7 separate regions of the Homo sapiens genome follow, and regions 1, 2, 3, 4, 5 and 6 are each linked to region 7. The links are contacts of gene promoters, found by promoter capture Hi-C in human tissues and cell types (Jung and others, 2019). All regions are on one chromosome and are shown on one strand. The core of a region is centred on a gene start or on the middle of the fragment in contact, and the rest is flanking DNA. Distances in the headings are between cores, read along the strand shown. Region 1 overlaps ZFYVE21 (zinc finger FYVE-type containing 21). Region 2 overlaps PPP1R13B (protein phosphatase 1 regulatory subunit 13B). Region 3 overlaps PPP1R13B (protein phosphatase 1 regulatory subunit 13B). Region 4 overlaps PPP1R13B (protein phosphatase 1 regulatory subunit 13B). Region 5 holds the start of LOC124900347 (small nucleolar RNA SNORD51). Region 6 overlaps KLC1 (kinesin light chain 1). Region 7 holds the start of TDRD9 (tudor domain containing 9).

Region 1 (3,714 bases), core at 945-3,444, 210 kb before region 7:
CAGTGTACGGAGCCATCACCGGTCACTGAGCGTGTCCTGGAGAGTTGAGACCAGTGCTGCCCACCTCTCCCCAGTATCGCCACCATGAGGAGTCTTTTTAGACACTTTCCGCCAATCATCCTCCTTCATCTTTTTTAAAATTTACTTTTAAGTTGACACGTGAAAATTGTATTTATGGTGTAACGAACTCTTAATAGCACAGAAATACTCTACGTCTGTATGAACCGTAAGGAGCACGTGAGAAAGTGTGGCCAAGATGAGGCAGAGGTTTCCACCAAAGCACAATTTCTTTCTCCCTGCTGTACACATGCACTGATCTTACGGTTCTGTTTTATAGTGAACCACTGTGTTCCCCTCCTTCATTCTCTCTTCCAGAGCCCTTCTGGTATCAGCTGAATTGTTTAGCATTTTTCCCTGCCTTTCTTTGTGGCCTCTGCTGAGGCACTGTGTGGCAGTCCCGCGGTGACTTCCGACTGAGTGGAGTTGAAACACTTGAGTCAAGGTGGCACCCCTCGTGGAAGAGAAGATTCATTCCCACGCTGGCGTGGTGGCAGGATACCCCTCCAGAGCCCCCCACCATGTTTGGATGATTAACTGGGATCTGAGCAGCTGAGGGAGGTCCTAGCATTGGGTGGGCTTGGGGGACAGAGAAACCATTCTAATAAGATGGACTTTGTCTCTGAGTTTTGCGTTGTGAATTGTATTGGAGCATGGTCTTACAGGCCAGAAACGACCAAAGACAGTGTTCTGGAGGAACTTAGAACGGGGCAGTAAGGGCTGGAAGATTTGGAATAAAGTCCAGCTTTAGGTGCAATAGCTCGAGGGGACATGTACGGTAACAGTCGCCTGGCATGTGGTGATGCTGAAGGGGACACTGAGCTACACTGTGCTGGCTGCGTGCTTGGGGCCGCTAAGGTGATTGTCGGGAGGTGACTCAAATGTGCAGATAACCAGTTGTGGGAAATAGGTTTATTTGAGGTGGTTTGGAATGGGGAGAGGAGAATTTGGTAGAACTTGGCAGGTGGGTAACATTGTCCTTGGCTTGGTGGCCGTGTGCCGATCGGCATCATCGTCATATCTGTAAACGTGTTGGTCCATTTTCATTCCAGCTCTGTTCTTAGCCAGGGGAGTCTGAATCCAGCCCAGTGCCCGTCTCCCGAATACCAGCTGCCTGACCGGGCTGGTTTATCAGTTTGGGCCCATGAGGGTTATCCCTTTAAAATGCTGCAAAACCCCCTGGGGAGCATGTGCACACATGCACCTTTCTCCGAGAGGTGGCCTGCAGCTCTCAGATTCTCAAGGCTCTGACGCAGAACCAGTTGAGAATCGTTTCTCCAGTCTGTGCCTCCTCAGGAACCTGTGGGGCAGGGGAGGCAGAGGCGGCGTGTAAAGCTTCGTGCGACACCACTTTGGATAGAGGTGCTTTGGGGGTGTGAAGGAAGCTTCAGATGATCTCTGGGGCTTGTCTGACTCTGCCATCAAATATCCGACACTGACGCAAGGCAGTGGGCTTGGGGGTGGGCGGTCCGGGCGTGCAGCCATCTGGGCTTGTCACAAGCAGCTGAGATCCTGAGTTTTATCCTTAAAATCCTTGCCGCTGTGCACCCCTCCCACCTCCCATCCGTGGTGCTGGCAGAAGAATGACCGCAGCTCCATGCTGGCGGGTTGACACTTTGATGGATACTCTAGATTCAGAGCCAGGAAGGAGAGAGCACGTGCGCGTCTGATCACGAGCCTGGACTCGGATGAGGAGAGATCTGAAGTGAGGACTGTTGCTAGAGGCGTCTGGAGCTGTGCAGCGGGGAGAACAGGGGACCCTGAGTTCTGCGAGGGTCTCACAGGCCAGGCCGGACAGGGCTTTTCTTTTGCAGGGAGGAGTGGCCAAGGCTAGAAAGAATCAAGCTGGGGAGGTGGGATGGGCCAGTGGAGGGTCAGGACCTCCAGCAGATCAGAGAGCTGAGGCCAGAATACAAAAATTAGCTGGGCGTGGTGATGAGTGCCTGTAATTCCAGCTACTTGGGAGGCTGAGACAGGAGAATCACTTGAACCCAGGAAGTGGAGGTTGCAGTGAGCTGAGATCGTGCAGCTGCACTCCAGCCTGGGCGACCAAGCGAGACTCCGTCTCAAAATAAATAAATAAATAATAAAAATTCAAAAATTAGTCGGGCGTGGTGGTGTGTGCCTGTATCCCAGCTCAGGAGGCTGAGGCAGGAGAATCACTTGAACCGGGAAGAGGAGGTTGCAATGAGCCAAGATTGTGCCACTGCACTTCAGCCTGGGTGACAGAGCAAGACTCTGTCTCAAAAAAAAAAAAAAAAAAGTCCAGGTAAGGGAATTGTGTTCCAGTTGATCATGAGGAGAAATGGCCAGTGTTTTCTGAGGCAGAGAATGGGAATTTGGAGGGCCTTGCTGCAGGTAAGCAAGGGGGGCATCTGTGATCTCCTCTGGCTCGTATGGGGAGGGTGGTTCTCGGTGGAAGGCTTTCCCAGCACACTGCAGGGTGGGGGGTTTCATAATTGTTTCCAGGATCTCAGCGCTTGGGTAAAGCTCACCCCTGTGAGGTGCCAGGGGCTGCCAGAGCCTCCACAGGTGTTCTGGGAACCAGCAGCCTCATGAGATACTGCCAGGGACACCAGCGAGCTCCTCAAGGGTCCCTGTGGCTGGCTAAGAGCTTTTTCTTTTTTGAGACAAGGTGTTGCTGTGTCACCCAGGCTGGAGAGCTGTTACTGATGTTAGGTAAAACTGAGACTTTGAAGCCACAAAAAAGGATTCCTGGGCGTCCTGTGGGAGGCCAGGCCGCCTGTAGCATAACCCTCCCAGGCTGTGATCATAGTGTCTGCACCTGTCACCGTCTTCAAACTGTCTGACAGCTTCAAATTGTAGAAAACTGATAGTAACGCACGTGTTTCTAGTCCCTGAGATGCAAGTAGATTTTGTCTCTCAGAGGTGAAGTTGATGTCCTCTCTCACACACCCCACCGCGGGGTCCCTGTGAGAGGAGCCAGTTTACAACTCATATCTTCCTTCCTCACGGCCTGTATCCATGTCTGCTCTTTGGATTCTCCTTTGAACTGGGTTTTTAGTCTTATTGGTTCTCTCATTAACTAATGAGGTAAATCTTTGACGTGGGTTCCTTTTCTGTTTGTAGGAGTTACGCTCTACCAGTTAAACGTGATTATCTTTCAATAAAGGTGCATTGATACATGCATTTAAATTGTTTTTTGATTGGCGAGTTCTTGGGGGGCTGAGAATTAGTTGACTGTGGGAGCCCCACCAGCCAGTGGGTGACGCTTCTCACTGTAGTGTGGGAGCTCAGAGTGCGTGGTGGGGCCTGATGTTTTTTGTCACCCCAGCCTCAAAGGGAGGGCAGGCCTATGTCCATGTCCAGCCTGTGTCCTGAGACTTGGTTCTTTTTATAACTTTTTTTGAACATCCATTTAAACTCCCTAAACTATACTTTCAGATTATATGGAGGCGCTTTTGGTTTCTTGCGTGCTGCCAAACCCCACTCTTTGGGGTGGGCCGGGTGCTGGTTCTGAGGAGCTGCCCTGTGACCCTCGAGGGGCCGTTCCTGTTGCATTGGAGTGGGGGAGCGGGTCTCGACCTGCAGGTCTCTAAGGAGCTCCATGCTGGTGTCTGCCGCACTGTGGAGGAGTGATGGGCTTCATGATTTCTGTTTTTTGTTTTGTTTGAGACGGAGTCTCACTGTCACCCA
Region 2 (4,231 bases), core at 203-2,702, 150 kb before region 7:
TCTTTCTTTCACTTATTATTATTATTATTTTTTTTTTTTTGGAGACAGAGTCTCGCTCTGTCACCCAGGCTGGAGCGCAGTGGTGCAATCTCAGCTCACTGCAACCTCTGTCTCCTGGGTTCAGGCGATTCTCCTGCCTCAGCCTCCAGAACAGCTGGGATTACAGGCACCTGCCATCATGCCCAGCTAATTTTTGTATCTTTAGTAGAGAGAGGGTTTCACCATGTTGGCCAGATTGGTCTAGAACTCCTGACCTCAGGTGATCCGCCTACCTTGGCCTCCCAAAGTGCTGGGATTACAGGAGCTAGCCACCGCGCCCGTCCCATGGTAAATCTTAGAACTCAAAAAGATCTTCAACATTCTGTTGGACAAACAAGCTATAAATGCTTGCTAAAGTGTAACCTGGATGTTCCCAAGCTTGGCATGGCAACATAGTCACATGGGGAGTTTTCTAGGCCCCACTCCAGATTTACTGAATGAAAATTTCTACCAGTGGTGTGTGTGCGTCTATTTCTTAAGACGTCCTGAAGCAGATCCGCCTGGAAGAACTCTGTAGAGGCTCTTGATTTGCAGTGGACAAATCTCTACTCCAATGACAGAAGGCAGGAATGTGAAGAGGGAGAATCTATAATCTTAACAACAGGAATATTTCTCCCTGAGTGGCAGAAGGATTATGATATTGAAACCAAAGAGAAGAAAATATAATCTAGTATACCACATGGCTCTGCAGTGGATAATACCTGCAAAATCTAAAATAATGAAACTGCTAAATGGTTTTCAACTTTATAACCAATCTACAGACAAAGCAAAAAAGGTTTATAGTTAGATAACAATATACAAATATTGTCAACCTTTACAACATGAAAGTCTGGTACAGCTGCAAGAGCTGGAAGGAAGGAAGGAAGGGAGGAAGGGAAGGAGGGAGGGAGGGAGGGAGGAAGGAAGGAAGGAAGGAAGGAAGGAAGGAAGGAAGGAAGGAAGGAAGGAAAGATGGCAGGGGCCTAATATTATCATTTTACAAAGAGCAAGGTCCAGAGATACTGTTTAAAGTTGATAGTACAAATAAACAGAGATTTAAGTATATGAGGTAGGGTCACAAATATAGCCAATAAAAGAACTAGCAATTCAATAATAAGTTGGGAAGTAGAGAGGTGAAATAACTTGCTCAAATTCAGCTCATTAGAAAGCTCCGAGGCCAGTGGGCTAAACATGGGCCAGTCACACTCTAGATTCCATGCACTTTACCAGTATCTCACCATGCCCAGCCCTGTGTGAGGAAGGAACTTGCCTAAGCTTAGATGCCTAGTTAGTGTTACAGCCAGAAAAAGAAACTCAATCAGGCTGGGCGCGATGGCTCACGCCTGTAATCCCAGAACTTTGGGAGGCCAAGGTGGGCGGATCACAAGGTCAGGAGATTGAGACCATCTTGGCTAACACGGTGAAACCCCATCTCTATTAAAAATACAAAAAATTAGCCGGGCGTGGCGGTGTGCGCCTGTAGTCCCAGCTGCTGGGGAGGCTGAGGCAGGAGAATGGCTTGAATCCGGGAGGCGGAGCTTGCAGTGAGCCCAGATCAGGCCACTGCACTCCAGCCTGGGCGACAGAGTGAGACTCTGCCTCAAAAAAAAAAAAAAGAAACTCAATCTCTAGTCTTAAAATTACTTGTTACAGTTATCTTCAAATTTTCAGAAAAGACCACATTAAAAATGTCCCTATTTGGTTCATTCTTTCAACATACACCAACATTTCGGCTTTTTTTGAGATGGAGTCTCACTCTCTTGCCCAGGCTGGAGTGCAGTGGCACGATCTCGGCTCATTGCAACCTCTGCCTCCTGGGTTCATGTGATTCTCCTGTCTCAGCCTCCTGAGTAGCTGGGACTACAGGCGCATGCCACCACGACCAGCTAATTTTTGTATTTTTAGTAGAGATAGGGTTTCACCATATTGGTCAGACTGGTCTCGAACTCCTGACCTCAGGTGATCCACCGACCTTGGCCTCCCAAAGTGCCAGGATTACAGGTGTGAGCCACCACGCCCAGCCAACACCAACATTTCTTACAAAGAGCTCCTCCACAGCTCCCCTCACCTATGATAAGCATTCCATCTATTCTCCAAGTCTATACCACAATGATGGAGGAAGACACTGCAGCCCACCATCCATTGTGTCTGTCAAAACCTGACAGAGGATCCAGAACCAACACTGAAGATGCAAAGCAAGTCAGCCTACTCAACTCTTAGTCTACAAGCTAAGCCCATAGCCCATCTGCCGCCACAGAGATGCTGTGTTTACGTGCACAGAGGCACCCACTGCCTGCTCCAGGAGAGGACATGGCAGCAGCATGTGAAGGGCAGGTGGAGGGCTGCTCCAAAGGAGACATGATCTGATTCATGGACCATTATGTGAATAGGTAACACCACTCAGTGACTGCTGCTTTATAATTTCATATAATATTTTGAAATATTCAATAGAAATGACAATATCTACCCCCAAAATAATTATTTAAAAATAAGTTATCACCCAAACTCATTACTACCGGTAAAAAGCAATTAAAAAAAAAAAAAAAACAGGGTCTTACTCTGTTGACAAGGCTGAAGTGCAGTGGTATAATCATGACTCATGGCAGCCTCAAACTCCTGGGCTCAAGTCATCATCCCGCCTCAGCCTCCTGAGTAGCTGGGACTACAGGCAGATGCTACCACATCTGACTTTTTTTTTTTTGAGATGGAATTTCGCTCGTTGCCCAGGCTGGAGTGCAATGGTGCGATCTTGGCTCACTCCAACCTCTGCCTCCTGGGTTCAAGCGATTCTCCTGCCTCAGCCTCCTGAGTAGCTGGGATTACAGGCGCCCACCACCACGCCCAGCTAATTTTTTTGTATTTTTAGTAGAAACAGGGTTTCACCATATTGGCCAGCCTGGTCTTGAACTCCTGACCTCAGGGGATCTGCCCGCCTCGGCCTCCCAAAATGCTGGGATTTACAGGCATGAGCCACCACGCCTGGCCACATCTGACTTTTTTTTTTTTTTTTTTTTGACACGGAGTCTCTATTGCCCAAGCTGGAGTACAGTGGTGCGATCTTGGCTCACTGCAACCTCTGCCTCCCGGGTTCCAGCAATTCTCCTGCCTCAGCCTCCCGAGTAGCTGGGACTACAGGCGCATGCCACCATGCCTGGCTAATTTTTGTATTTTTTTGTAGAGACGGGGTTTCACCAGATTGGCCAAGCTGGTCTCAACTCCTGACCTCGTGATCTGTGCGCCTCAGTCTCCCAAAGTGCTAGGATTACATGTGTGAGCCACACACCTGGCCTCATCTGATTAATTTTTTAAAACCTTTTATAGACAGAGGGTCTCACCATCTTGCTCCAGCTGATCTCAAACTCCTGCCCTCATGTGATCCTCCCACCTTGGCCTCCCAAAGTGCTGAGATTACAGGTGTAACCCACTGCACCTAGCCATCAATTTTTAAAATTCAATTTAATTCACTGTCACTTACCCCATTTTCAGTACGTTTTTCTCCAGGTACATTTATTACATTTCTCTGAGTTCGTTGCTCTTGGGTCTGACGGCCACCTAAAGAAATAAAAGAACCAAACTCACCAAAAGGCGTATTAGAAAAAAGTAATATTCTCCCATTTCTTCATGTATTCAAATATTTATTGAACACAAGTGTAAAATACCAGGCTGAGAAATTCAAGACTTTAGTACAGTTGAAAAAATGGTCTTACAATTAATCTTTTATATATAAAGTTGTTCAGGCTGCGCTCAGTGGCTCACACCTATAATCCCAGCACTTTGGGAGGCCAAAGCAGGAAGATAGCTTGAGCCCATGAGTTCTAGACCAGCCTCAGCAACATGGGGAGACTTTGTTTCCACAATAAATATTTTAAAATTAGCCGGGTATGGTGGTGCACCCTGTAGTCTCAGCTACTTGGGGGGCTGAGGCGGGAGAATGACTTGAGTGAGAGGGGTCGAGGCTGCAGTAAGTCAGGATTGGGCTACTGCACAATCTTGCTCTGTTGCACTCCAGCCTGGGCAACAGAGCAAGACCCTGTTTAAAAAAAATAAATTAAAAATAAATGAAATAAAGTGTGTAAATGAAATCTTTTCTTTTTACATTCTATCTCAGAATCTTGAAATTGACTTGTTATCAAAAGGCTTTTAACACTTAAAAATGGAGAAGATGGTAAATTTTATGTGTATTTTATCTCAATTAAAAATAAAAATTTGGGGC
Region 3 (4,045 bases), core at 82-2,581, 170 kb before region 7:
GCCGCAAGAGATCTTTTTATTTTTTTTTGAGACAGGGTCTCATTGTCATTCAGGCTGGGGAGCACTGGCCGGATCGTGGCTTACTGCAGCCTTGACCTCCCAGGCTCAAGCAATCCTCCCACCTCAGCCTCTCAAGTAGCTGGGACTACACAATTTTAAGATCACTTAACCTAACCCACCCATCCTTTTAGATGCAAATAACAGAGCAAAACTTGAGCACGCTTGCTATTTAGTCCTGTGAATTTGTGACTGAATTGTCAGGCAGTTAGACTATGTTTCACTGGATCTGGGCCTGGTGAGAGTGGTGTCGAGGGGGTGTTGCAGGCACGTACACAGATTGCCGTTCATGATTTTGCTGTAGTCGACTTGTCCTCTCATTGCACGAATTTTCTTCAGCTTGTTCTCCTGGGCTTCAACTCGTTCTTTCAATTTCTGAAGCTTTTCATTTTCAGAAATAGACTGCTGCTGACGGCGCTCCTGTTGCTTTAGAAAATGTAAACGCTGTTCCTAACAAAAGAAAGAAAAATGTAACTTTGAAAATTGAAGGCTGGGCGCGGTGGCTCACATCTGTAATTCCAGCACTTTGAGAGGCTGAGGTAGGTGGATCACCTGAGGTCAGGAGTTCGAGACCAGCCTGGCCAACATGGTGAAACCCTGTCTCTACTAAAAATACACAAAGTAACTGGGCGTGGTGTGCGCCTGTAGTCCCAGCTACTTGGGAGGCTGAGGCAGAAGAATCGCTTGAAACCAGGAGATGGAGGTTGCAGTGAGCTGAGATCGTGCCACTGCACTCCAGCCTGGGTGCCAGAGTGAGACTCAGTCTCAAAAAAAAAAAAAAAAAAAAAAAAATTGAAACTTATGATTACTTTTATATACTCAAAAAGAAAAATGTGAGAGTATTCTACAGTATCACTCATCTTAAAGAATACTAAAACACTAGAGGAATCTTATATCAGACCATAAAAAACTGAAATTACTGGGCGTACCTAAGTATGAAATAGTAAGAGCTGCGGGATTTTTAAGAGAGAGGGTTTTCTTTTTCTTCTTTTTTTTTTCTTTTGAGACGGAGTCTCGCTCTGTTGCCCAGGCTGGAGTGCAGTGGCATGATCTCGGCTCACTGCAAGCTCTGCCTCCCGGGTTCACACCATTCTCCTGACTCAGTCTACCGAGTAGCTGGGACTACAGGCGCCCACCACCATGCCCAGCTAATTTTTTTGTATTTTTTTAGTAGAGACAGGGTTTCACTGTGTTAGCCAGGATGGTCTCGATCTCCTGACCTCGTGATCCACCCGCCTCGGCCTCCCAAAGTGCTGGGATTACAGGCGTGAGCCACCGCGCCCGGTGAGAGAGGGTTTTATTACACTCATCTACACCAGTTAATATAAGCGCTTCTGCAGAAAACCTTCCAGCAGGAGAACATGCACTAACACAGTCTCCTCTTCACTCTATCACATCCGTGATGTTCCAGTGAGCCTTACTTTCCTGGTGCAAGTAATACATTTCCTGCTGCTACAAAGTGGCTTCCAAGAATCTAATTCATTTCCTAAAGGAAATGAACACTGACCAGCAGAGAATTTTACACTGAAAAGAGATAAAGGTGATCAGTAAAGAGATAAATCTTCAATTTGTTGTGATACTGAACAATCAAGGAAGTGTCTGCTTCTTCAGGATTATTTTCTTCAATAAGGAAACATTTTAGAGTCAAACAATACCAGAACAATCTAAAAATAACAATATATGCAACATTCTTCAATAGGGTTTTCCCTATTAATGTGAAAACATACCTTAAAGAGTCAACATTAAGTATTCATGATCCCATATGTATGCATAAAATACACCTACATAGGGAGAGGTTTAAGGTGTGATTATGAAGGCACTACATACTACACTCTAAGGTAAAACAATATGTGCTTAAATATTTAAGATGTAGCATTAACTTGTGATTCACATTACTGAAAATATCTATAACTATTTTGAACAGCAATACTCTTGGATCAATATTTGGAAAAAAATAAAAAGCAGAATTAGAAAATTTTTACAATGACATAATACTATGTATATTTTATCTTAGAAATCTTATTAATGGGATAAAGTACTTTCCAATTGAACTTAACTTTTAATCATTTTCTCATAAATCCAATAAATATTGAGACAACTTTTTAAAACAAGTCCAACCCAAATTATTATTTACATAAAAGTGGATAGTACAATGAAGTATATACAGTCATTCAATAAATTTTAAAAAATCAGATTGGACATTTTAGTCATAAAGAAAATCTCTCTACAGAAGAAAGCAATAAGAACCTAGTTGGTAATGTTTAAATGTTATCTTTAAAGCCAGTTTGGAATTTTTTTTTCTTTTTTTTTTTCATTTTGAGACAGAGTCTTGCTCTGTCACCCAGGCTGCAGTGCAATGGCGCGATCTCAGCTCACTGCAACCTCCACCGCCGGCTTCAAGAGATTCTCCTGCTCAGCCTGAGTGGCTGGGATTACAGGCGTTAGCCACTACATCTGGCTAATTTTTGTATTTTTAGTATAGACAGGGTTTCACCATGTTGGCCAGGCTGGTCTCGAACTCCTGACCTCAGATGATCCACCTGCCTCGGCCTCCCAAAGTGCTGGGATTACAGGTATAAGCCACCACGCCCGGCCAGTTTCAGAATATTTTAAGATCATTTACAACATGAATCATTTCCAGCAGGCATGTGTGATACATCTGATGTTTCAATTAAATATGACTAAACCATTACTTAGAAAGATTCGAGTTTCAATAACCAGTGTAGAACTCAGTATATATAATAAGCATTATCTATACTCCGCACTGTAATAAACCAAACAAGTCCAGCCTAGAGTAGCACATGGGGAAGCCCCGTTAACCACCTGTCATTGTCTTCGTGGCCCTGATCAGTGTTTTCATCACGGATTGCTGCTTTCTTCTTGAACATTAATACCAATGACACAGCCAAGAACATACCCAGAGGCAAAAGGAGATAACAAAAGCACCCTTTCTTCCCGATTTCTTTGTTTTTTTTTTCTTTTGAGATGGAGTCTCGCTCTGTTGCTCAGGCTAGAGTGCAGTGGCACAATCTCGGCTCACTGCAAGCTCTGCCTCCTGGGTTCACACCATTCTCCCGCCTGAGCCTCCCGAGTAGCTGGGACTACAGGCGCCCGCCACCAAGCCTGGGTAATTTTTTTTAAATATTTTTAGTAGAGACGGAGTTTCACCATGTTAGCCAGGATGGCCTCAATCTCCTGACCTTGTGAGCCGCCCACTTTGGCCTCCCAAAGTGCTGGGATTACAGGAGTGAGCCACTGCACCCAGCCTTTTTTTTTTTTTTTAATACAGGGTCTCACTTACTCTGTCACCCAGGCTGGAATGCAGTGGCATGATCTTGGCTCACTGCAACCAACTCCTGGGCTCAAGTGATCCTCCTGCCTTAACCTCCCATGTAGCTGGGACCACAGCCACATGCCACCATGCCTAATTTTTACTTTTTGTAGAGACAGGGTCTCACTATGTTTCCCAGGCTGGTCCTGAACTCCTGGGCTCCAGCAATCCTCCTGCCTTGGCCTCCCAGAGTGCTGGGATTACAGGCAGGAGCCACTGTGCCTGGCCCCTTTCCAAATTTTATCTATGATTTTAATAAGGTCATCAGTTTCCTGTTTGGGGTGTCTATTGTATGTGTCAAAAGTGAGATGCTCTTGTTCTGATAGCTTCCCAACTTCCAGAAACTACAGTATGCATATATTATTATGGAAGTGATAACAAAGAGAGAAAGACTGCATTTAGCACTCCTATGGCATGGTCCTATTTTATAAGCGTTACCCAAGAATATATTAACCCCAGTCTAAAATGATGGTTAAAGAAGGTACTTTTTGAACAATGTTTCAATACCTCTTTTTATAACTTACCTTGGCAACCAACATCTGCTGCTGATTTTCAATCTGCTGCTGTTGCCTAGCTGCCATATCTTGGAGCTCTGAGAGGGTAAGTTCAACACGTGGATTCCCAACCTAAACAAAAAGCACTTATTTTGGAACATAA
Region 4 (3,838 bases), core at 898-3,397, 190 kb before region 7:
CAGTAAGAGCTTCTGTCTTCACTGGCAACCAACCGGGGGTTATGGGACTTCTTAATGGCAAGAGGGGTGGGTGTTTTGAAAGTGGGTATTTATTTGGATTTATAGTAATTGGCAAAATTCAGTCCTTGGAGGCGAAAGTACCTCTCCCAGTTAATGGGCAAACTGGAGAAAGGGCCTCACCTGGAAACTGTAGGATTCACATTGTGGACGCTGTCTGCTAAAGTGAGCACCATTAAGACCATTTTCTAGCTGCAGCTTTCCTGGAAAACAGCACAATAATCTCTTAAGTGGCTCCTGGTAGCTGGCAAGACCATGCGGTGCTCCAAAAGGAAGTTCAGGCGAGTGTTCGCTGTCGGGGTTTGATCCGTGGATACAGCTGGGAAGCAACGGAGCCGCGTCAGGACAGGAAGCCACACACAGGGAGCAGGGCCAGCCAGACCCGACCCCTGCTCCTCACCTCAGCCACCCTGGACAGCCGTGCAGCACCCTTGTCCCTCAGGCCTACGCTCAGCTGCACCTCTACACTGAGACCCACCCAGCCCTCTTTAAAATGTGCCTTGTACCCCCAGAATATCCTATTTTTCTCACAACACTTCATGCCACCTAAAGACTTGTGACTGCCTGTGGCTCTCAAGGTCATAAGCTCCCCTGGGCAAGGGTCTCTGCCTGGCTCCCTGCTGTGTTTGCCTGGCCAAGAACGTTGGCTCAACAGCAAGCCCCTGGCAGCTCTGCAGGGCACAAAGAGAGCAGAGGCAGCTCCCTCTGCCAGAGGACTGAGGGAATCACAAGTCCAACACAGAGCTAGCAGCCTGCACGTTCCCACCTCTCCCTCCACTGGAGAAATTTCTAGGCTGCAGAGATTTCTAGATTGGGGAAAGTGTGGGTGGGCTGAGCCGGGCCACTTGGTGAAGTTCATCATGAACCGAGCTCATTGAGCGGCCCCTCACTGGGGCACTCAGCCTCCGCACGGGCCTCCATGGCATAAGCATGGCTGGGGGAACCTCCTGGGGCCCTGCCTGAGCCTCATGCCAGCTCTGCCAAGTAGGCACCTCCCCCTCTACAGAGGGGGCTGCTGAGGCTCAGAGAAGCGAAGCCTCCCTCCCCAGCCCCACAGCAGGATAGGACCGCATGCTGTACAGAGACACGGGCAGCTAGTTTCCCAGTAAGTAACCTGAGTGCTCACCCCCAGCAGGTTTTTGGGCACATAGCCCTCCCGGTCTCCAAGGCGAGCCCACCACCACTCAGTCTCGCTTTCGTCCTTGCGCCTCAGGATGGTGAGGGCGTCCCCTTCGTGGAAGGACAGCTCGTCACTGTTCTGGGCCTCGTAGTCCCACAGAGCATACGCCACACCTTTGTTCATCACACCCAGCTTTTCCTGCACCCCTGGAGCCAGAGAGCAATGGTCAGGCCTCAGCAGAGGGTGGCCTGCAGCAAGGGACCCTGCTCGAGGAACAGGACACAGTCGTGCTGCTGCCGAGGCTGCTCTCAGCAGGCCCCACAGAGGCCAGCGAGGGAGATGAGACACTATTGAAGACTAGGGCCCCCACCCGATACCTCCCCTGCCCGGCCCAGCTGCTGCTCCTGCTGCCGGCCCTTTCTAAGTCCTGCAGGACAGACAGGACAAACGAGCTCCTGAGCCCCAGGGCAAGAGTGTGCTGTTCTTAAGGTGACGCTTAGCAATCACAGCCAGAACAGATTTCTAAAGTCACTAGCTAGAGCAGCTGTGACTGCTCTTGGATGGTAATGAACAAACTACACACAACTGAGCCCTGACTGAGCAGCTACTTGTGGGTTCCCAAGAAAGGGCCCTTCTGTGGGACACTCTGCTTCTGAGACCCAGTTGTGGTGACCATGGGGAGCTTCCCTTCCCTGTGGTGGTGCCACTGTGACGGCAGCCTCCTCCTCACACTGGCGGGACTCACCTGGGGGCTGCTGTGCCTCCCCTAGCCCTGCCACACAGCCTGAGAGTTTGTTGCTTGGCTCTGTTGTGGGAGCTTGGGCCAAAGAGGGCATCACATGGCTGTTTTCATGGATAATTTCAAACCTAGAGTCCAGTGTAGGGCACATAGTATGTTCTCAAGTAATGTGTGGAATAAATGACTTGTGACTGTTTAATACTCAGAATAGAGAAGATGTTCCAGCTCTTGGAAAATGCGGCCCTGGCTAAAGCAGCTTAATTAGGACATGAGCCTCATTCATCAAATGTTTCCGGGGAATGGCCAGGGCCCCAGGCCACCCCAGGAAAGGAGCTGGCCCTGCTTCCAGAAGCAAGGGTACAGAACATCTATGCAAAGCACAGCCAAGTCATTTTGTTTTCTTGGGAATCTGGCACAGAATCCTTCTAACAACATGGACTTTCAAACATGTTTTCAGGAATGAAAACAAGGGGCAGTGTGACCTTCACTCGAGTGAGACATCCTGGCTGCCCCTGAAGAAGGTGGAACAGCTCGAGAATGCTGTGCTGCCAGGCACGGTGGCTCACACCTGTGATCCCAGCACTTTAGGAGGCTGAAAGTGGGCAGATCGCTGGAGCCCAGAAGTTCGAGACCACCCTGGGCAACATGGCGAAACACTGTCTCTACAAAAAAAAAAAAAAAGTACAAAAAATTAGCTGGCTGTGGTGGGACAAGCCTGTAGTCCCAGCTACTTGGGAGGCTGAAGTGGGAGGATCAATTGAGCCCGGGAGGTCGAGGCTGCAGTGAGCCATGATTGCGACATTGCACTCCAGCCTGGGTGACAGAATGAGACCTTGTCTCCTGTCTTAAAAAAAACAAACAGAAAGCTGTGCTGAAGCTTCTCTGGCACCGGCTGACTGTTGCCATGGCAGTACCACAGCAGACAGCACCACTGTGGCCCCAGGCCTCCCCTGCGTACCATATAGAAACTGGGAGCACTGGATGTAGCCTTCCTCCATCTCCTCACACTTGTCTGCAGCAGTTTCAATGTCGCTTATGGTTGAGGCAAAAATGGCGGCACCACTCTCCACCAGCTGTTTGCAGAGGTGAACGCTGTTACAAGAGGCAGCGCAGTGCAGCGGCGTCCTGGAATAGAGCGTGGGTGAAGGTGCAGGCCTGGCACTGCCTGTCCTGTAGGACGTGGCCCTCAGAGATTTCCCTCTAAGGAATCTCGCGGAAGGCGTTCACCTTTGTGCCATCAAGTCTCAGTGTTGTTTCTTTAAAGGCAGGATTTCCATGAGCCAATTGTTTCAGACCATACATACATTTTGAAAAGGGGGCACAGGGAATGGGTTAAGAAATGGCCAATCCACAGATGTTCACGCCACACTGCATGGTGATGTGAATGTACATAACACACTGAAACACACATTTAAAAATAGCTAAGATGTGAAATTTTATGTTATGTGTATTTTACCACGATTCAAATGCAGCACAATGTCAGCTGTCTGAAAGTTCAAAATAACCCCCACAGGAGACCAACACGCCTCGCCCAGCAGCAGAGCTCCCGAAGGCAAACGGAATGAACAATGCGACAACCTACATGCCTGACCCAGGGGGATGCTGAGGCTGCTTTTCACACGGAGCACAGAGTGTGAAGAGTCCATACGGAACATATGAGAAGGGGAAGATGGAATGATTCACAGAATGCTTAGACTGCAATGTTAATGACGAGGCACAGAAAGAGCATAACCACAGCCACGTTTTTAACAAAATCATCAAGAGAAAAGGCTGGAAAAAAAGGCAAGGAAACCCTGGCAACAGCTGTCTTTCAAGGATGAAATGATGGGTGTTCTTGCTCTAATTCTCTCTTCCGTGCTTCCTAATTGTCTAGAACACGCCTGTTTTCCTTATGCAAAGCAGGGAAAGTAAATCTGTCCACC
Region 5 (3,810 bases), core at 528-3,027, 130 kb before region 7:
TTCCTGTAGCTGTCATTAGGCTAACAATTGAGGGCCTGTCCTTTTACTTCTAATTTAGTAATAGTCCAATGTTTATCAAAGTCAAGTTTCTCTCCATGTATCCTTAAAATTCTTTACTCTGAATTCTAAGTAAAAAGCACAAGACCTTGCAAAAAAATTGTAATTTATATACCCACAAGGGACTTGTATCTAGAATACATAAAGAACTTTTACAATTCAGTAACAAAAAGACAAATAACCCATTTTTAAAATGGGCAATGGGGTGGGGTGCAGTGGTTCACACCTGTAATCCCAGCACTTTGGGAGGCCCAGGCAGGTGGATCACTTGAGCCCAGGAGTTTGAGACCACCCTGGGCAACATGGCAAAACCCTGTTTCTACAAAAATTAGCCGGGCATGGTGGTGCATGCCTGTAGTCCCAGCTACACGAGAGGCTGAGGTGGGAGCACTGCTTGAGCCCAGAAGATAGAGGTTGCAGTGAGCCAGGATTGTGCCACTGTTCTCCAGCCTGGGCAACAGAGAAAGACACTGTCTCAAAAATAAATAAATAAATAAATAGGCAAAGGAACTGAATAGACATTTCTCCAGAGAAGATATAAAAATGGCCAATATACACATGAAAAGATTTTCACCATCATTAGTCATTAGGGAAATGCAAATCACAATCACAATAAGACATATCTTCACAACTACTAGGATGGCTAAACTCAAGCAGACAGTATCAAGTGTTGATGAGAATGTGCAGAAATTCTCCACATCGTATACTTCGTATACTGCTGCAGGGAATGTAAAATGAAGCAATTGCATTAGAAAACAGTCTGGTGGTTCTTGAAAAGGTTAAACACGAATTACCATATGACCCAGAGATTCCTAGGTTTATACTACTAAGAGATATGAAAATATATGTCCACACAAAAACTTGTACATTGTCAGGTGCGGTGGCTCATGCCTGTAATCCAAGCACTTTGGGAGGCCATGGTGGGTGGATTGCCTGAGCTCAGGAGTTCAAGACCAGCCTGGGCAACATGGTGAAACCCCGATTCTACTAAAAATACAAAAAATTAGCCAGGCGTGGTGGTGCGCGCCTATAGCCCCAGCTACTGGGAGGCGGAGGCACAAGAATCGTTTGAACCCAGGAGGCGGAGGTTGCAGTGAACCAAGAGCATGCCACTGCACTCCAGCCTGTGGGAGAGACCAAGACTCCATGTCAGAAAACAAAAAACAAAAACAAAAACAGTTTGTACATGAAAGTTCATAGGAGCATTATTCATAATAGCCAAAAAAAAAAAAAAGAGAGACAGCCCAAACATCTATCACTCTGGCCTGGGAGACAGAGTGAGATACTGTCTCAAAAAAAAAAAAAAAAGTATACAAAAAAGCATTTTGTAAAACTCAGTCCTGTGCAATATAATTACATTTATTTTAATTACTCAGTTCTTTATTACCACAGATAACTAAGAACTACAAGCAATATTTTCCATTTGATAAATACTAAATTATATGTACTTAGTTACTTTTTTTCCCCATCTTTATCAGAAAAAAAGCAAATCCAGCACAAGCTTAGCTAAAAGATGGTGATTTGATTTTATCAATGTAACAATCTTTACAGGACCTAATACATACCATTTCCCCTCCACACTTCAGCTAAATGGCAGCTGCCTTCTCCAGGTTCCTTGCAAAATTCTACAACATCTCGACAGGTTGTTTCCGGTGTTATAGGAACTTCTGTTAAAATCTGTTCATTGTTGCTCAAGAAAACAGTTAATATCATCTGTAAGACAAAAGAGTAAAGCTGTAATTTAGATTCCTTATCACAAACAGATTAATCTGTAAATTTAAAGTGATCCCTCTACCCACCCCCCGCCCCCAAAATGCCTACAGAATTATTTTCTGGAAATAATAATAGATAAGCTGATTCTAAAGTTCATGTAGAAAGATGAAAAAGACAAGTCAGGAAAATTCCAAATGAGGAGAGTAATAGAAAAGAAAGAGCACTATCTTATAAAGTGCTCAAAACAACATGACAGCAGTAGATATATATATAGATCAATGGGGCAAAGTCATACCCCAGAAATAGACCCAATTACCTATGAAAAAAATGGCAAATGATGAGGGAGGTATCTCAAAAATCAAGGAGGGAAAACGACTATACAATGAGTGATGTTTGAGCAAAATATATCCATGTGGAAAAAATGGTTTCATACCATATATCGTACACTAGCAGAAGTTCCTAATAGATCAAATATTTAGATACAAACCCTAAAGCCATAAAAAGTCCAGAATAAAACCTGGGTATATTCCCTTTTATAGCTTTGGAATAAAGGTGCTGTTTCAAACTATGACTCAAAAATCAGACACTATTTTTAAAAAGACTGATATTCAAGTACATTAAATATAATAATCTCTTTTTTTTTTTTTTTTTGAGATGGAGTCTTGCTCTGTCGCCCAGGCTGGAGTGCAGTGGCGCGATCTCGGCTCACTGCAAGCTCTGCCTCCCGGGTTCATGCCATTCTCTTGCCTCAGCCTCCAGAGTAGCTGGGACTACAGGCGCCCGCCACCACGCCCGGCTAATTTTTTATATTTTTTAGTAGATACGGGGTTTCACCGTGTTAGCCAGGATGGTCTCGATCTCCCGACCTCGTGATCCACCCGTCTCGGCCTCCCAAAGTGCTGGGATTACAGGTGTGAGCCACCACACCCGGCCAAGAATCTCTTATAATCCAGAAAAACAAGGTAGGGGAAAACATTTGCAACTCATATTACAAATACAAAGCTAATCCCCTCAATACATAAAGCGCTCCTAAAAAATGATAACAGAAAGACCAAAAATCCAATTCCTTTAAAGAAATTAGCCAGGAAAGTGTATTAATATATCACAGTAAAAGAAAAATAAATGACCCTTAAACATAAAAATACATTATAGTGTATTTGAAAAAATAAAAATCGTCTAGCCTTACTTTATTTTATTTTTTTGAGACAGGGTCTCACTCCGTCACCCAGGCTGGAGTGCAGTGGCGTGATCTCAGCTCACTGCAACTTCTGCCTCCTAGACTCCAGAGATCCTCCCAAGTAGCTGGGACTACAGGCATGTGCCACCACGTCCAGTTAATTTTTGTATTTTCTGTAGAGACAGGGTATTGCCATGCTGCCCAGGCTGGTCTCAAACTCCTGAGTTCAAGCAATCCTCTCGCCTTGGCCTCCCAAAGTGCTGGGATTACAAATGTGAGCCACTACACCTGGTGTTTTTTTGTTTGTTTGTTTGTTTTTCTTGAGACAGAGTCCCACTCTGTCGCCCAGGCTGGAATGCAATGTCGCGATCTTGGTTCACTGCAACCTCTGCCTCCCCAGTTCAAGCAATTTTCCTGCCTTGGCCTTCTGAGTAGCTGGGATTACAGGCGCATATCACCACGCCCAGCTAATTTTATTTTATTTTATTTATTTATTTTTTTGAGATGGAGTCTCGCTCTGTCACGCAGGCTGGAGTGCAGTGGCGCAATCTCGGCTCTCTGCAAGCTCTGCCTCTTGGGTTCACGCCATTCTCCTGCCTCAGCCTCCCGAGTAGCTGGGACTACAGGCGCACGTCACTACGCCCGGCTAATTTTTTGTATTTTCAGTAGAGACGGGGTTTCACCGTGTTAGCCAGGCTGGTCTTGAACTCCTGACCTCATGATCCGCCCGCCTTGGCCTCCCAAAATGCTGGGATTACAGGCGTCAGCCATTGCGCCCAGCCTTATTTTGTATTTTTAGTAGACACAGGGTTTCGCCACATTGACCAGGCTGATCTGGAACTCCTGACCTCAAGTAATCCGCC
Region 6 (3,634 bases), core at 806-3,305, 230 kb before region 7:
AAGAAAGTCTCTTCATTTTACAGGGTCCTGTAGCTGACCCAGTGTTTGCCCTCCAGTTTCTTGGAGTTTCTACATGCACATTGACCCCTGGGCCTCTCGAGTGCCAACCTAGATTTAGCTGTGCAGCTGGTACTGTTAGGCCTGAGGCCATTTGAAGCTGGCATCATTTGAAGTCCTGGTTAAGTGTAATTTTTCTATTTGTTTTTTCATGCAGGAACGAAATAATTGTCTGGCCGACTCGCGAGCTCTGAGTGCCAGCCACACTGACCTGGCCCACTGAGAGCCAGCAGGGCTAGGTAACCTGTCTTGGGAGTGTGAGACCGCCCCGCCCTGCCACGCCCCTCACCGCCCTGCCCGGAGGCGCCAGCCGCACTCCTTGGCTTCCTTTCCTAGATAGTGACGTCCACCAACCTTGGAGGTGCCTTTTCAAAACACCCGGGAGGCCGTGCCTCAGCATTCTGTTACTCGGCCTGCAGCCCCAGTGCCAGGAGCCACCCCGACCGCGACCCGGCCAGGCTGGCTCAGGGAGGCCGAGGTGGCGCTGAGGTGGCTTCAGCACGCTGGGGATTGGCTCCTGCTCACGGATGCTGTTGCATTTCCTGCCTGCCACCTTTTTGCCATGACACCAGACTCTCTTTTAAATTGTAATATTGTAATAAGGCTGTAAATTAAGAATCTGGAAACATAAAGTACCCCTTTCAGAACGATAGGCATTTAGTGATCTATGGCAGTAAAGCCTGAAGCTTAGCGGACACTGGTCAGTGGGAAGTGAATTCCTTCCCAGCTGGAGCATCTTCCGGGTCTCTCTTTCCAAGGTCCCCATGCCTGTGGCCCTGGGGCCCCATGCCCCCTTTTGAGCTGTGTTCTCCCGGACGCCCCTGCACACGAAGCCCATAGAGACGTGTGTTTCACTTTTTTTTTTTTTTTTTTTGAGACGGAGTCTAACTCTGTTGCCCAGGCTGGAGCGCAGTGGCCCAATCTCGGCCCACTGCAAGCTCCACCTCCTGGGTTCACGCCATTCTCCTGCCTCAGCCTCCCGAGTAGCTGGGACTACAGGCACCCGCCAGGCGGATCACAAGGTCAGGAGATCGAGACCATCCTGGCTAACATGGCGTTTCACTTTTTAAAAGCTTAAGCTTTATGGAATGAGGGAGCACGGTGGACTCTGACAGGAACCTTTTCAAATCAATGCTGAGGCTGTATTTCTTAGCCGTCCACAAACTAGTCCATAGGTAAAGAGCATACAAAACAGACGCCGAGGTGATCAGTGATTCCAAAGGCTGACGCTCAGCAGCGCCACCTCCATGCCAGCCAACTAGGCTACGGGATGGAGGGGCGGTCTGTGAAACACCAGCCATCCCGTGAAAGCTCAGCTTGCCACTGTCATGTAACAGGGTGGGTGGTGGCACAGCAGAGGCTCACACTTGTCACCTTCAGCCTCTAGAAGCTCCCCGTGGGGCACGAAGGCTGGGGACAGAGTGTCCTGAGGTTTTGTTACAAGGCTAGACTTTAAAATACCTTTCAAAGTTTCATCCCGCCTCATGTCGCAGGACTGCTGTGTTTGTGAAAGCGCGTTTGTTTCCACAAGACAAGCTCCGTGTAGTCGCCAGCGGGTGCCTGGCCCAGGAGCTGCCCTGTGGAGCCAGCGTTGTCCCCGAGCTGCTCGCCTGTGGCCGTGGCTCCTTTTCTGAGGCTCCTGACTCCATTCTTGCAGATTCTGGTGGATCAGGAGCTTACATTCTAAATGCTACATAGAGGTGTTGAAGAAAATTTCATAGGTTCTGTAATAGTGGATGGGATTAAAAGAAAAAATGTTAAATTATATATATATATATGGCTGGGTGCGGTGGTTCATGCCAGTAATCCTATAATCTTAGCACTTTGGGAGGCTGAGGCGGGAGGATCACTTGAGCCCAGTTCAAGAACAGCTTGGGCAACACAGCGAGTCCCTGTGTCTAGCAAAAAAAACCATGTGTATATATATATATATGTGTGTGTGTGTATATATATATATATATATATACATACATATATATACATATATAATTTGATGGGTTGTGAGAAGCCAACCCCCCCCAAAAAAAGGGGGGTGTAGAGCAGCTTCCCCTGACAGGTGCCGTGGCTGCCCCCGTAGTGGGCTATGTCTGTGCACAGGCGACAGGGAGGAGGGCTCCGGAGCTTCCCTTGTGGTGGGGGTGCCTTCTCCCTGTGAGGATGCTGAGCAGAGTTTGGAACCCAGACAGTTTCCCTTAGTGACAGTTATCTGGAAAGGAAAAAGGGCATTTAGAAGGAATAAACATAGGGCTGAATATGGAGTTGAATTTTAACCTCTTCAGACTGATGGGTGCAGACGAGGTTGTGTGGGGCCTCTGTGGAGCCTGCTGTGGCTTCCAGCCATGGGACTTTAGGGCCGAGGTGGCCTCTGCAGCACTGTGGCTGTGGGAGCACTGTGTGTTGGGGTAAGAGAAGCCAGGGGGCCTCCCTGAAGCCAGCTCATAAAGGAAGGTTCGTGTTTCAGAGGGAGGCGGCAAGGGAATCTGAGTACCTGAGTCCCCGATGTTTGAACCCTTCCACCCAATAGAAGTGCGGTGATTTCAGCCATTTCCCATCTGGCGGTCTGAATTTTTCCCTTCAGAGGAGAGAAGTGGTGGGCCCAGGCATCCCTCCTCCTGTGTGTGGTCGTTCTGGTGAGAGGAACCCCACGCGAGAGTCAGCACCTGTTTCTTCAGAGTTGCTGTCAAAATAATCACTGCGCCCCCGCCCCCCGCCCCCCCCCACAGCAGCCGTGTGTGCAGCGCCCGTCCCCAGCAACCATGGCATGGGAGCGTCTGGATCTGTGGGCGGACAGCATATCTCTGGGTAGTTGGTGCAGCTGTGGCAGAAATCAGGCCCCTGGGGAAGTCCTGTGACATGGATGCTTCCCTGAAGCAGCAGCAGTGTGTGGCTCAGGGGTCCTCAGAGGCCGGTGGTGCCCGCGGGTGGCACGGGGCACTCTCATGGGCAGCACTTGGTCTTGTGTTTACAGTATTGGAGGGATTCACATCGTTGTTTTCTGGATTAAGCTGCTAGGAGTATCATGTACTTAGAAATTCAGTGTTTATAGTAAGATGTATTAAACATTGCTAATGATGTATCGTTACAATGTATAACAGGTTTTCCATTGTCATAACTGTATGGAATTTTCTTGGAGGATGTCATTAGCTTCTGTTTGCACTGACTTGTGAGCTGTGTGTACGCTGTGGTCAGATTTCTGAATGCTGTAGAGCACTTACCAGCTCTGACCGTGTCTTGCTGGGGCCAGCAGGCTGCGTGTGCAGCGGGGCCAGCTGTCTCAGGGCTGATATGTAGACGTGTATTCTGTTTACAATTAGTTCCCCAACTCTGTGGGGAAGAACTTAAGCGGTTTTAGTGTTTTATAATATGGTGAGGCAATGAGGGTCAGGGCGCGTGGTCCCTGAGGGAGGGTCTTCAGGGCAAGACCCATGGCCCTGGCCTGGAACTGTGCTCCCCAGGGCGTGGTGCCTCCCTAAGGGGATGGTCAGTGTTCTGGGACTGACTGCCAGGCCAGCCCGTCTGCAGACTCCTGTGGTGGGAGTTCCCTGGGACGGGAAGCCCCTCGGCCCCTTCCCTCCAG
Region 7 (3,718 bases), core at 545-3,044:
ACAACAACAAAAAACAAAACAAAACAAGTGTGAGTTCTGGAGTTGCTTCAAGTGGTTTCAATATATTTTGTAAAATTTTGAATTATGTCCTAGCCTCCACATACAGTGTGAAGTTACAATATTTTCCAATCAATGCTGAATGACATACCATGAGTCTCAATTACTTTATGATTACCTTTTTTCTTATTTTTTGAAAAACATGACTGGGCATGGTGGTTCATGCTTGTAGTCTCAACACTTTGGGAGGCCAAGGGCTCCCAAACAGATTGCTTGAGCCCAGGAGCTTGAGACTGGCCTGGGCAACACAGCGAAACCCCTGTCTGTACTAAAAATATAAAAAATTAGCCGGTGTGGTGGTGGCGTGAGCCTGTAGTTCCAGCTATGCAGGAGGTTGTGGTGGGAGCATCACCTGAGCCCCCGAAGTTGAGGCTGCAGTGAGCCCTGATTGCAGCACGGCACTCCAGCCTCAGCGACAGGAGTGAGACCCTGCCTCAAAAGAAAAAAGAAAAGCAAGTTATTTCTTCCTGGCAAAGTGTGTTGAGGCACTTTTGGGAACCTGTCGTATTTGGCAGAGTCCTAATATGAGGTCTAGAGCTCATTATGCCAGGATTTGGAGCCAGAACTCCTGGCTTAGTATGATTATGGGTTCAATTTTTGAGACACCAATAGCTCAACCTACCTGCCTGATTTCTGTCTACAGTGTTTTCAAACCGCCCTCTTATTTGCCACTGCTTGGGCTTTACACTGCTGATTAGAGCCATGCTCTCGATACCGTCTCTGTATTTGTTCACATGGCTCTTTCCTGAGAGCCCACATGGGCCAGATAGATCCTGCCCTGGCCAGTGAGGGGGACACACCCCAGGCAGGTGGCCATGTCTCTCTTCTGACCCTCCCTTCCCTTGCACACGTGGCTGCCTTCCCGTGCATCCTTTGTTGATTTCTTCCCGCGGCTCCTTCTTTTGGGGAGTTTGCTAGGGCTCTGTTCTCCACCCTCACTCTTCTAGAGCTCGGCCGGGACCACCTCAGCCTGTATCTTTGGTCCATGTGATCGCCTGGACCTCCTGTCCGCACCTGTTTGTGTCCAGCTGTGAGTCTGACACCGCCGCCTGAGACACCGGTTTAGGAAGGAAGATGAATTCAGTTATGATCCGGCTGCAAAGAACTTCTCCCAGATCCTCACCTCAGCCATCAGGGCCGCCTGCCCTCCCCTATAACCCTGGGTGGTCCTCCGTCTGGCGCATTCCCCCGTATCCTGCAGGGGTCTGCCTGGCGTTACTTTCTCCGAGACCTTCCTGACCTTCTTCTTGCCCCTCTCCCCCCATATTAGGTGCAAGGATGTCCTGGTACGTCTGACCCACGAACGCAAATCCCTTCTCTGGTTTGCCTTCCATCTCCTCACCCTGAGGTGCTCAAGAAACGTATGTAGGGTCCCGGTCCGCTCAAAGCGCACAAACCTCCGAGGCAGCAGCCTCTAAATAGAGAGGCCAGGGAGTGACCGGAGGGCATTTTCTTGTACACACAGGGGTTGCCACGGAACTCCCGTGAAACAGACTCCCGGGCCAGCCGCGGCGCTCAAGCTTCCCCTGAGGTCCTAGAAAGGCTCACCCTGGGCTCGCTCGGGGCGGCGGCTCCCGGCAGGCCTAGCGCGGCGGGGCGGGGCCGGCGGCACGAGGACCAGGCAGCGCGGGCAGCACGCGCCCGGGCCGGAGCCCGCCCACAAGGGCGCGCGGCGCGTTCTGATTGGAAGGCCTCGAGCGGGGGCGGGGCTTCCAGGGTGCGCTTCCGCCGTCGCCTGTTCCCGCCGCGGAGACCCGGCAGTTGGGGGATGCCGACGCCTGGGCCTTGAGGATGCTGCGGAAGCTCACCATCGAGCAGATCAACGACTGGTTCACCATCGGCAAGACGGTGACCAATGTGGAGCTGCTGGGCGCGCCGCCCGCCTTCCCGGCAGGGGCGGCCAGGGAGGAGGTGCAGCGCCAGGACGTGGCCCCCGGCGCTGGTCCCGCGGCCCAGGCTCCGGCTCTGGCCCAAGCTCCGGCCCGGCCGGCCGCTGCGTTCGAAAGGTAGGACGCGGGCGGGGCGGAGGCGGCTGGAGGGCGGCCGGGCGAGGCCTGGCGACGAGGGCACGGGCCATCCAGATCCTTCTCGCGAGCCCGTGCCCTCTCGCGGGGCTCCAGGGACCCCTGACCGTCCAGGGCGAGTGGTCACTACACAACCCGACGCGCGGCCCAGAGCGGTGCCTGTAAGGAAGCTGAGCTAGAGGTTTTTTTTTTTTTTTTTTTTTCAGTTCTTAATGTTTAACAGACTAGTTTTTGAGGCACTCAGGTTTTCAGGATAACGGAGCGGAGGGCAGAGGTCCCATAGGCCCCTTCCCTCCCAGAGTTTCCCCTGTGAGCATCTGCGTAAGGTGTGGGTATTTGTGACAGTCGGCGAACCTGCATCGCTGCGTCTTCGTCACCCGGAGGCCATCGTTACAGGAGGGTTCACGCCTCGTACTGGACGTTCTGTGGGTTTGGACAAACGCCTAACGTCACGCATTACAGAGTTCACTGACCTACAGATCTTCTCGGCCCCACTGTTCCTGCCTCCCTTTCCCTACACCACGTGGAAACCACTGATTTTTTTACTGTCTCCATAATTTTGCTTTTCCATACTGTCATCTAGTTGGAATCACACAGTATGTGTAGCCTTTTTGATGGGTTTCTGTCACTTAGTATTAGTATGCATTTGGGGGTTCCTCCATGCCTTTCCATGGTTTGATAGCTTCTTTCCTTTTAGCACTGATTAATATTCCACTGTCTGGATGTACCACAGTTTATCTCCATTCACCTACTGAAGGAGAGCTTGGTTGCTTCCAAGTTCTCCCCCCACCCCCCGAGATGGAGTCTCACTTTGTTACCCAGGCTGGAGTGGAGTGGCGCCATCTCGCCTCACTGCAATCTCCCCCTCCTAGGTTCAAGCGATTCTCCTGCCTCAGCCTCCCGAGTAGCTGAGGCTACAGGCATATGCCACCACGCCTGGCTAATTTTTGTATTTTTAATAGAGACAGGGTTTCACCATGTTGGCCAGGCTAGTCTAGAACTCCTGACCTCAGGTGATCTGCCCACCTCAGCCTCCCAAAGTGCTGGGATTACAGGCGTGAGCCACTGCGCCCGGCCTGCTTCCAAGTTTTGGCAAGGTTTTTGTGTGGACATAAGTTTTCAACTCATTGGGTAAATACCAAGGAGTGCAAATGCTGAATCTTTGTTAAGTTTCACAGACTCCCTCCTCATCTCACTATTCTTTAAGTAGCTACCATCAGTTACTCTGTTCACTTGATTTGGGTGGAAATAAAAAGCAAGAGTATATCCTCTGTTTTTAGAGGAAAGACGTAGATTTGGTGAGTAGAAACACCTGCTCCCTCTTCTCGCTCTTTAAAAAGGCCCTGGGAGAAGTACTTCCAGCTTGGAGTATCTCCGTCACTCTTGCTCAGTCCCCAAGTCCAGCACGCTTTACAGTTGAGAAGGTGGTTTTGTTTTTCTTTTTCTTGGTTTTTTTTTTTTGAGACATAGTTTCGCTCTTGTTGCCCAGGCTGGAGTGCAGTGGCGCAATGTTGGCTCACCACAAACCTCCGCCTCCTGGGTTCAAGCGATTCTCCTGCCTTGGCCTCCCGAGTAGCTGGGATTACTGGCGTGTGCCACCACGCCCAGCTTATTTTGTATTTTTAGTAGAGACAGCA

What was found. Contacts are between HindIII fragments. The study calls those that stand out against the background at their distance.
Region 1: a contact is called between a fragment that was not itself captured here and the fragment with the promoter of TDRD9 in region 7, in 3 of the 25 tissues and cell types used here (IMR-90 fibroblasts, dorsolateral prefrontal cortex and hippocampus).
Region 2: a contact is called between a fragment that was not itself captured here and the fragment with the promoter of TDRD9 in region 7, in 12 of the 25 tissues and cell types used here (IMR-90 fibroblasts, bladder, dorsolateral prefrontal cortex and 9 more).
Region 3: a contact is called between a fragment that was not itself captured here and the fragment with the promoter of TDRD9 in region 7, in 2 of the 25 tissues and cell types used here (dorsolateral prefrontal cortex and spleen).
Region 4: a contact is called between a fragment that was not itself captured here and the fragment with the promoter of TDRD9 in region 7, in 5 of the 25 tissues and cell types used here (H1 embryonic stem cells, dorsolateral prefrontal cortex, heart right ventricle and 2 more).
Region 5: a fragment that was not itself captured here is called in contact with the fragment with the promoter of TDRD9 in region 7 in 1 of the 25 tissues and cell types used here (lymphoblastoid cells).
Region 6: a fragment that was not itself captured here is called in contact with the fragment with the promoter of TDRD9 in region 7 in 2 of the 25 tissues and cell types used here (mesenchymal stem cells and thymus).

What each region holds. Positions count from the first base shown.
Region 1 is chr14:103,717,153-103,720,866 of GRCh38, forward strand. The region is part of intron 1 of ZFYVE21 (zinc finger FYVE-type containing 21); the gene reads left to right. Among named protein-coding and RNA genes, the nearest start is that of ZFYVE21, 3.2 kb to the left of the region's middle. RefSeq lists an enhancer at 1,022-1,532. The HindIII fragment of the contact is 3,090 bases long and covers 650-3,714 here.
Region 2 is chr14:103,775,252-103,779,482 of GRCh38, forward strand. It overlaps PPP1R13B (protein phosphatase 1 regulatory subunit 13B), which reads right to left. Exons shown (of 17, transcript NM_015316.3): 4 at 3,494-3,570. Among named protein-coding and RNA genes, the nearest start is that of ZFYVE21, 62 kb to the left of the region's middle. The HindIII fragment of the contact is 5,946 bases long and covers 1-4,231 here.
Region 3 is chr14:103,753,738-103,757,782 of GRCh38, forward strand. It overlaps PPP1R13B (protein phosphatase 1 regulatory subunit 13B), which reads right to left. Exons shown (of 17, transcript NM_015316.3): 5 at 3,913-4,014; 6 at 333-507. Among named protein-coding and RNA genes, the nearest start is that of ZFYVE21, 40 kb to the left of the region's middle. The HindIII fragment of the contact is 9,352 bases long and covers 1-4,045 here.
Region 4 is chr14:103,734,820-103,738,657 of GRCh38, forward strand. It overlaps PPP1R13B (protein phosphatase 1 regulatory subunit 13B), which reads right to left. Exons shown (of 17, transcript NM_015316.3): 15 at 2,875-3,041; 16 at 1,184-1,383; 17 at 1-376. The coding sequence ends at 335. Among named protein-coding and RNA genes, the nearest start is that of ZFYVE21, 21 kb to the left of the region's middle. The HindIII fragment of the contact is 7,486 bases long and covers 1-3,838 here.
Region 5 is chr14:103,795,749-103,799,558 of GRCh38, forward strand. PPP1R13B (protein phosphatase 1 regulatory subunit 13B) reads right to left here. Exons shown (of 17, transcript NM_015316.3): 2 at 1,623-1,770. LOC124900347 (small nucleolar RNA SNORD51) reads right to left here and starts at 1,600; the gene lies at 1,524-1,600. The HindIII fragment of the contact is 5,242 bases long and covers 1-3,810 here.
Region 6 is chr14:103,693,339-103,696,972 of GRCh38, forward strand. All of the region lies in intron 15 of KLC1 (kinesin light chain 1), which reads left to right. Among named protein-coding and RNA genes, the nearest start is that of XRCC3, 20 kb to the right of the region's middle. The HindIII fragment of the contact is 3,456 bases long and covers 328-3,634 here.
Region 7 is chr14:103,926,662-103,930,379 of GRCh38, forward strand. It overlaps TDRD9 (tudor domain containing 9), which reads left to right and starts at 1,795. Exons shown (of 36, transcript NM_153046.3): 1 at 1,795-2,063. The coding sequence starts at 1,849. The HindIII fragment of the contact is 10,851 bases long and covers 1-3,718 here.